2 separate regions of the Homo sapiens genome follow, and region 1 is linked to region 2. Evidence: promoter capture Hi-C in human tissues and cell types (Jung and others, 2019). All regions are on one chromosome and are shown on one strand. Each heading gives the region's core, a stretch centred on a gene start or on the middle of the fragment in contact. The rest is flanking DNA. Distances are from core to core; before and after follow the strand shown.

Evidence for each region. The method cuts DNA at HindIII sites, captures the fragments that hold promoters and counts their contacts. A contact is called where the count stands out against the background at its distance.
Region 1: a contact is called between a fragment that was not itself captured here and the fragment with the promoter of SLC32A1 in region 2, in 2 of the 25 tissues and cell types used here (lymphoblastoid cells and spleen).

The regions. Positions count from the first base shown.
Region 1 is chr20:39,026,850-39,030,407 of GRCh38, reverse strand. DHX35 (DEAH-box helicase 35) reads right to left here. Exons shown (of 22, transcript NM_021931.4): 19 at 1,909-1,990. Among named protein-coding and RNA genes, the nearest start is that of DHX35, 66 kb to the right of the region's middle. The HindIII fragment of the contact is 7,874 bases long and covers 1-3,558 here.
Region 2 is chr20:38,722,806-38,726,392 of GRCh38, reverse strand. It overlaps SLC32A1 (solute carrier family 32 member 1), which reads right to left and starts at 1,907. Exons shown (of 2, transcript NM_080552.3): 1 at 1,279-1,907. The coding sequence starts at 1,668. RefSeq lists an enhancer at 1-52. The HindIII fragment of the contact is 7,924 bases long and covers 1-3,587 here.

The DNA of each region.
Region 1 (3,558 bases), core at 274-2,773, 300 kb before region 2:
TCTTTCAAAACAATTTCCTTTGGAATGGAAATAATACATGTGATTTCTTCTATAATCTAAAAAGCAAAGTTAAATACTAAAGATAATGACTATAGGGGGACGTAACGATAATGAAAAAAGAAAGCTCACAGCCAGGCATGGTGGCTCATGCCTGTAATCCCAGCACTTTGGGAGGCCAAGGCGAGCAGATCACTTGAGGTCGGGAGTTCAAGACCAGCCTGGCCAACATGGAGAAACCCTGTCTCTACTAAAAATACAAAATTAGTTGGGTGTGGTGTCACATGCCTGTAATCCCAGCTACTCCGGAGGCTGAGGCAGGAGAATCGCTTGAAACTGGGAGGCAAAGGTTGCGATGAGCCAAGATCACCCCATTGCACTCTAGCATGGGCAACAAGAGCGAAACTCCATCTCAAAAAAAAAAAAAAAAGCTCAATACTGGACTATTAATTTCTCTGAAATAGTACTTCCAATTCCAACTCAGTAGAATGATCTGTTTCTTGGGGGAAGTGCTTCAAGTGCTGTGACGGAATGCCTCGTCGGCATTGTAATAAAGCCAGCGTCCTGGGGTCCTGGGCTGTCCTACCAGGGGGTGGTGAGCTGATCAACACTAAATGTTGTCTCAAAGGAATGATTAGCCTGGAACCTCTTAGGTAGCCCACATTGTTGCTAAGGACACTGATAAAAGAATTTTCCAAACGCTAGTCAAAATTGCTAACTCTCCAGGAGAGTAGGAGCAATCAAGATGACAAGCTGGCAGCACTCCTTAGGGAAGATCTCGGGCCACCGTGGGGGTCGCCTCCACATGGACAAGTTGCCTCAAATACAGACAACTCAGGGTGGGGAGGTGAGCTCATACAATGGGCAAATGAATCACAATACTGACAGGCTACAACATGCCTGGAGTAACAAAGAGAACATACTAGAGATCATTGTAAAGTGCTATCCTGCAGTTCCAACAGTCGGCTACTAGGATACTAGATGGAGCAGATCTGGCTGTCAAAATTAAAAAAGGCTCAGTGCAACTCTGGACTCATTAACAGGAGCCCAGGACAAGGGATATCTTGGCTGACCTCAAGATAACAGGGCAGTAATATTTTCTCTGGGAAAAAAAATTAATGACAAAATAATACATAGAAGAGCTGGGGAGAAATTCTTTGGAGTGTTCTCTTATTAAAGAACAGAAAATGATGATAGCTACACTTTTAGGAGGCTACACTGAGGTTATGAAACTAAAATGAGCCAAAGACAGAAAAGACAGAATAAAAGTAACAATTCAAAGCACTGGAATGATTAGTTTGGAGAATCATGATACTGACAGGCTACAGTATGCCTAAGCTATGCTTAGTTTTCACTGCATTTGAATATAGTAAAGACCATTAGGAAGGCATCAATGAGTGATTTCCTATGCCTAGAAAATGGAACTGGAAGAATCAGGTTATGTAGCAGGAGGCACATCCAGCACATGAGAAACACCTGGCTACCTCCAAAGACACCAGACGTGGCCACACTATACCAGGGTGGGAGGGGACTTCAGTCGTGCAGATCTCTAAAGACATAATAAACTAGCCAATTGTAAAATAACTTCTCTGAGAAACATTATTTTTAATAGTTTCTTCAGGTCATATTATTCTGTCATTAGAATTGAAATATTACCAGCCTCAAGATGTATAATTGTCATCCTTCTAAAACATACAACATATAGATGAGCTGAATATGTGAGAATCATTTTTAGAAAGTCAAGATATTTTGCTTAAAGCTATGTCGCTAACCTCAACTCAGTTTTGGAAGGAGACATGGTAGAAATTACAAATAATTATGCAATTACTATCTCTGCACAGCTTTCTGTGGGGTTTGGGTCATTTGTAAGATTGTTCCTTTAACAAATGACTTCACCAAGTATCATGTTACCTATAAGCTCCAGTAGAATGAAACCTCGCTGCATTGGCGAAGAAGCCGGAGACAATGCACCTCAGAACCAGATCCGGGTCACCTACATAGGCAGCCAACAGAGAGGCGGGTGAAACCCTTGCCTGCCCTAGGCTCCGTGTGCTCTAATGCACAGGATCCACTCCCAGCACCACCCCAGGCTGCTTCAAGACACCTGGAAACCCTCTCCTGAAATGGCTCCAGCCCTACCCTTCCCAATGCTGGATGCCTGCCCCAGCACCATCTAAGGAGGTCCCACTCCCCACAACTGCTGCTGACAACAATGCTGGTCTGCTCCTTGAACCTGGGACCCCTCCAACCTCCCCTAAGCCACAGATGACTGGACCATGGCTGGGCACCAGAACCTAAGAGTGCTGCTCTGCAGGCTGGTCAGTGACCTCAGAACTCCTTTGTAAAAGAGTGTCATATGGCAACAATGTTCTTTCTATAAAACACAAACTGGAGATAGTATACAACGTTACTTCTGTGGTTATGAGCTAGTGTTTGAAAATTGAAGTAATTCTTCAAATTTTTCAAATGTTCCATTTTAACTGGTGTTTCTATTGCTACAGCTAACATCTTCCATGAATAAAGCTTCCCCACTATTAGATGATGTCCATAGGATACATTCCAAATTGTTGTGCAAAAGGCTAATGTTATTTTTATGGTTAATGACATATCACATCTCATCAATTTTAAGACTCGCTCTTTTTCTAACTTTAATTCACTGAAATTAGGACAGCATTTTACAATGATAACTGGCAGCATTTTTTTTCTTTGGTGACACATAAAATAACGATGTTTCTTACACATGATGGTATCTTAGATCCAATGGAATAAAGCATGTTGGTAAGTAAGTTCCATAAAGGTGGTACTATTTCCAAAGCCATCAACAATATATAAAAATGGCAGTTTCACTGCATTCTTACTAGCAATGTTTTGGCAAAAAGTGTTACCTTCTGTTACCTTCTTTTATATTACATTTATTTGATTACTATCGGCATATTTCTTCTTTTGTGAATTTTTTGTTCTAATCCTTAGCCCATTTATCAACCTGAAAACTGTTTTTTCCTAAATATATTAAATAAAATCATTCTATAATAAAGTTTTTAATCTTTATCATTTATCTCATGACTGCTGAAAGTATCTTTCACTAATTGCTTTCTATTTTTTAACCCTTAGATGTTTTAAATTTGCATGTAATTTATTTAGTCTCCATGATTTTCTGTATTTTTCCTAAGCACTGAGCTGATAAAATCTCAAATCTACATGTCTAAATATGATCTAATCCGATATCCAGTCTCTTCTCTCCTATTGTCCATAAGAAATTTCCATGTAAAATATGCACTCTAAACAGGGGTGATATCACTTCCAAAGGGGTGGAAACTGGTTCTTGGAGGCAGGGGGAGGGGAGCATCTTAGACACTACAATGGCCGGTAGCCCTCCAAAGCTCAATCCTACCCTACAAAATCTTATTCCTTAGTATTTAATTTCTCAGGCTGGGTAGAATTTAAATTTAACTTTTCTCCTGGGCAGGGGTCTGATAATGAAACACAGGTGAAGAACACCAATTGCTGAAGTAAGGCTGTCATCTACCTGCTGGGTGACAGGCGTTTGACGAGCTGCTCTCC
Region 2 (3,587 bases), core at 658-3,157:
GATCCAGCAAGGCCGTCTCGCCGGGCCCCGGAGCGGAAAGCGCCTTGGGTCGGGCCATCTGGTGTTCGGGGCCCGGTGGAGTCCTGCTTACCCCGATACATGGAACAACCCCTGGGAGGCCTCTGCTCCCAGAAAACCTGCCTTCCGTGGCCCCAGTGATAGTGCGCTCCAGGGACGCCGCGGGGCCAAGCTGTAAGGGACCGGGGTTGCCTAGAGCTGAAGTCTCCTTCGGCCCAGAAAGCTGCGGCCTGCCAGCCCCTGCTAGCTCGGAGGTCGTTGCCAAGACTCCAAACCTGCTCCCTATGTAGGAGTCCTGCGCCGCCTGGTGGGGAGTGGGGGGTTAGGAATAAGGGGAGAGGGCCTAGAGAGCAGGGGCCATTCTTAGCCTCTGGAGAGGGCTTCGCCAGGGTCACACGGGGAGGAGCTGGCCGCCTCTTTGCGGTGCAGCCGGGATTTCGGGCGAGAGGGGCGAGTCTGTGCACAGGTAATGCTGGATTATTGCGGACTAAATGTGTTTGTGTGGGAGCATGTGTGTGCTTTCGTGTGTGTATACCTGTATGTCTCCAACAGGGCCGCACCCAAGGGAGCAGGCTGGTTCCTGTCTGCATGCATCTGTGCATGTGTGTGTGCATATGTTCAAACGAATATTCGTGTGTTTGGTATGTGCAGGTATATGCTTTTGTTTGTGGAGCTGTAGGGGTGTACGCAGGTGCATTTGGGGATAGTACTGTGGTCTATATATAGATACATGTCGTGTGCGCCTGTGCCTGCGCCTTTGTTCGTGGGAAGGGGGGCTGTGGGCATGTGGTGTGCCTGCCTATATACGTGTGCGTGTCTATGCGTGTGTGCGGGGGGAGGAGACTCCGACCTCAGCGATTTCCCCTTCTTCTTTCCTCCCAAAAATGCAGCTGTGAATCCGTTCCAGAGTCCAAGACCAAACCGTGCCCTCCAATCCTGATTTTCTTTCTTTCTCATCGCTTCCTGCTCCCTCCCCCCATTTCCTTCACTTTTGCAGTGTCTCCGGACAGGTGTCTCAGACCGAACTTCAGCCTAGCGGTCTTGCAGCTGGTGCCGTTGGGAGGGAGCGTGGGTTAGGGCGGAAAACACCGCCTGGGGGCGTAGGTCCCCGCGCAGGGCTGGGAGGGATGGAGAAAGGGAGATTCCTGGGTACAGGAGGGGGTCTCCAGGCCGAGATCACCGGGCGACTGTCGGGGGCAGAGCCCGGCACGCTGAGCTGGGAGGGGGGAGGACAGGCAGAACTGGGAATCCCGCGCTTACCTGGATGGCGTTGGTCACGTTCCAGCCTGCCTCCCACGCCGTGATTTTGGGCTTGTCGTGGCCCCCGAATTCGCCACCACCTCCCACCTGGTCCTTGGAGCCGGAGGGCGGCAGAGGAGCTCCGCTGCCTCGCTGATAATGGATGTCTCCCTCGACGGGCGCTTCAGCGCCCTCGTCCCCGCAGGGCTCTCCCTCGGCTTTCAGGATGTCCATCTGCAGGCCCTGGCGGTGCTCAAAGTCGAGGTCGTCGCAATGCGCGAAGCCCACCGCCTCCTCATCCGTGGCCGCCTGAAAACCCATCCTGGCGAACATGCCGCTCATCTTGGCCTGGGACTTGTTGGACACGGACGTGGCCACGTTGGACAGCTTGCTGCGGAGCAAGGTGGCCATGGCGGCGGTGGGGACAGCGGAAAGGACAGAAGGACCCGAGGATGCGGGGAACGCGATGCAAGAAGGCGAGGGCTGGGGGGCGCAAAGTCGCTATCTCCGCTTGCTCTCCGCGCGGCGCCCCGGGGCTCTCTGGCTCATGACCCTCGCAGCTGGCGTTCGAGGCTCTCTCAGGGCTGGACCGGGCAAGCTGGCAGCAGGTCTGGCGGAGCGGCGGCGGCGGCGGTGGTGGCTAGTGCACTGCGGAGCTGCCGCGGGGCGCGAGCTGGGCTGCGGAGGGCGGCGGCGGCGGCGGCGGCGGCAGCGGCGTCAGAGCAGCTACGCGAAGCTGGCGCGGCGCCCCCACCCGTGCGCAGCCCAATGCGCTCCCGCCCCTCGGAATCAGGCGGTGCGGGGGTGGGGGATTGGAGAGAGGAAATACCCGGAGGCAGGGGACGTGAGGAAGGGGCTAGGAGAAGAGAAAGGGGGCGCCGAGGGATTCAGACGTGAGCTGGGGGCAGAAGAAGGGCGCCCTTGGGAAGGAGGCGGGAGGGAGCGCGTGAAAGAGGGAGCGCCGAGGGCAGGGGAGGTGGGGGGGCGAAGTGCTGCATTTCTAGGGGAGGTGCTAAGCTCGCATCCTGGCCCTTCCCACCTCGCCGCCGCAGGGTGGGAGGGGGCCGGCGTGGGCTGATGCTCGCAGTCTCCCACCCCCGGACCACCCCCTCCAGGGTCCGGGAGCTGTGCAGCCCCAGATCCTCTGGCTAAGGACTGGTCTGGGCGCCCCGAAAGCCCGCAGGACTGAGTTGTCAGTCTCTCGCGGAGCGGGTCGTCTATAAGTCAGTTTCCCTGGCACCCATCCTTCGCGCGTAAACCCGGCCGCGAGTCCCCCTTGAAGGTAGAAGTGGCTGGCATGGATCGCTCCCAAGGAAGCTCAGCCTCAGGCTCAGTCACCCGGGTTCTCTCCGCCCGTCCAGGGACGCCGCGAGGGAAGCGATTGTGCGGATCGCTCGCCACCAGCCGCTCTCCAAATGCGTGCAGAATGGAGGCGAAAGGTTGGCTTTTCTCTTTCTTTTCGTTTGGGGGTCTGGAAGAAGGCAGGACTCTATGAGGACACCTCTCGTCAGCCTCCTAGCGGGTCTGCGAATGCCCACGCCGAGAGGGGCGCAGACGGGGCCAGGCGCGGAGGAAAGAAGGGCTCGCGGCGCTGCAAGGCGGAGGAAGCAGAGGCTCGCGGTGCGCTGGGGCCCTGCTCCGACGGCCGCCTCCAGGCTGTGAAAGCTTGGGCTGTTTGTGTTGATTGGGGTACGGGTGTGTGAGCGCGAGTAAGGGAGAGACCCAGAGACAAAGACCGATGCTGTATCAGACTCTGCTTGAGGTTGGATCAGTGTGGCCTCTGAGAATGAGGTTTGGTAACCGCGTGTGTTCTGTGTCTGTGTGGTTTTGCGCGCATTCCAGTGTGTGTGCCAGAGCTAGTGTGTTGGATTACGTATGTGTTCCCGAATGGGGTTGCCTGCGTTCGTGCCTGTGTTAGTCCCTTTGTAGTAGTCTCCGTGAGGGTCCGCTGCTCTGAATGGGTCCCTGCGTAAGTCCCCAGCTGATGTCCTGGCCGGGCTCCTCCTGAGCAGTAAACCGCAGGGCTCCACCTGGCAGTCCCAGCCTGAATGGAGAAGTAGCGGCTGTGACTGGAAGTGGGGGCGGGGGCGGACGGAAAAACCGAAGGAAACAAAAAAGGAAGCAGCTCCCCATCTCCCCTCTCTCGAGGCCCTTTCTCCCTGGGAACCCCAGCCACTCTTTCTCTGCAGTATTTCTAGATTAGCTCACGTCAGCGCACAAGTAGGGCGGCCCGAGGGCTTTGGCCAGAGAGTTGGAGCTGCCAGGACAAGACAGGCTTCCCTCTCTACACCCTCCCGCCTCCTGCCACCTCCTCCCATCCCAAGCCCCTC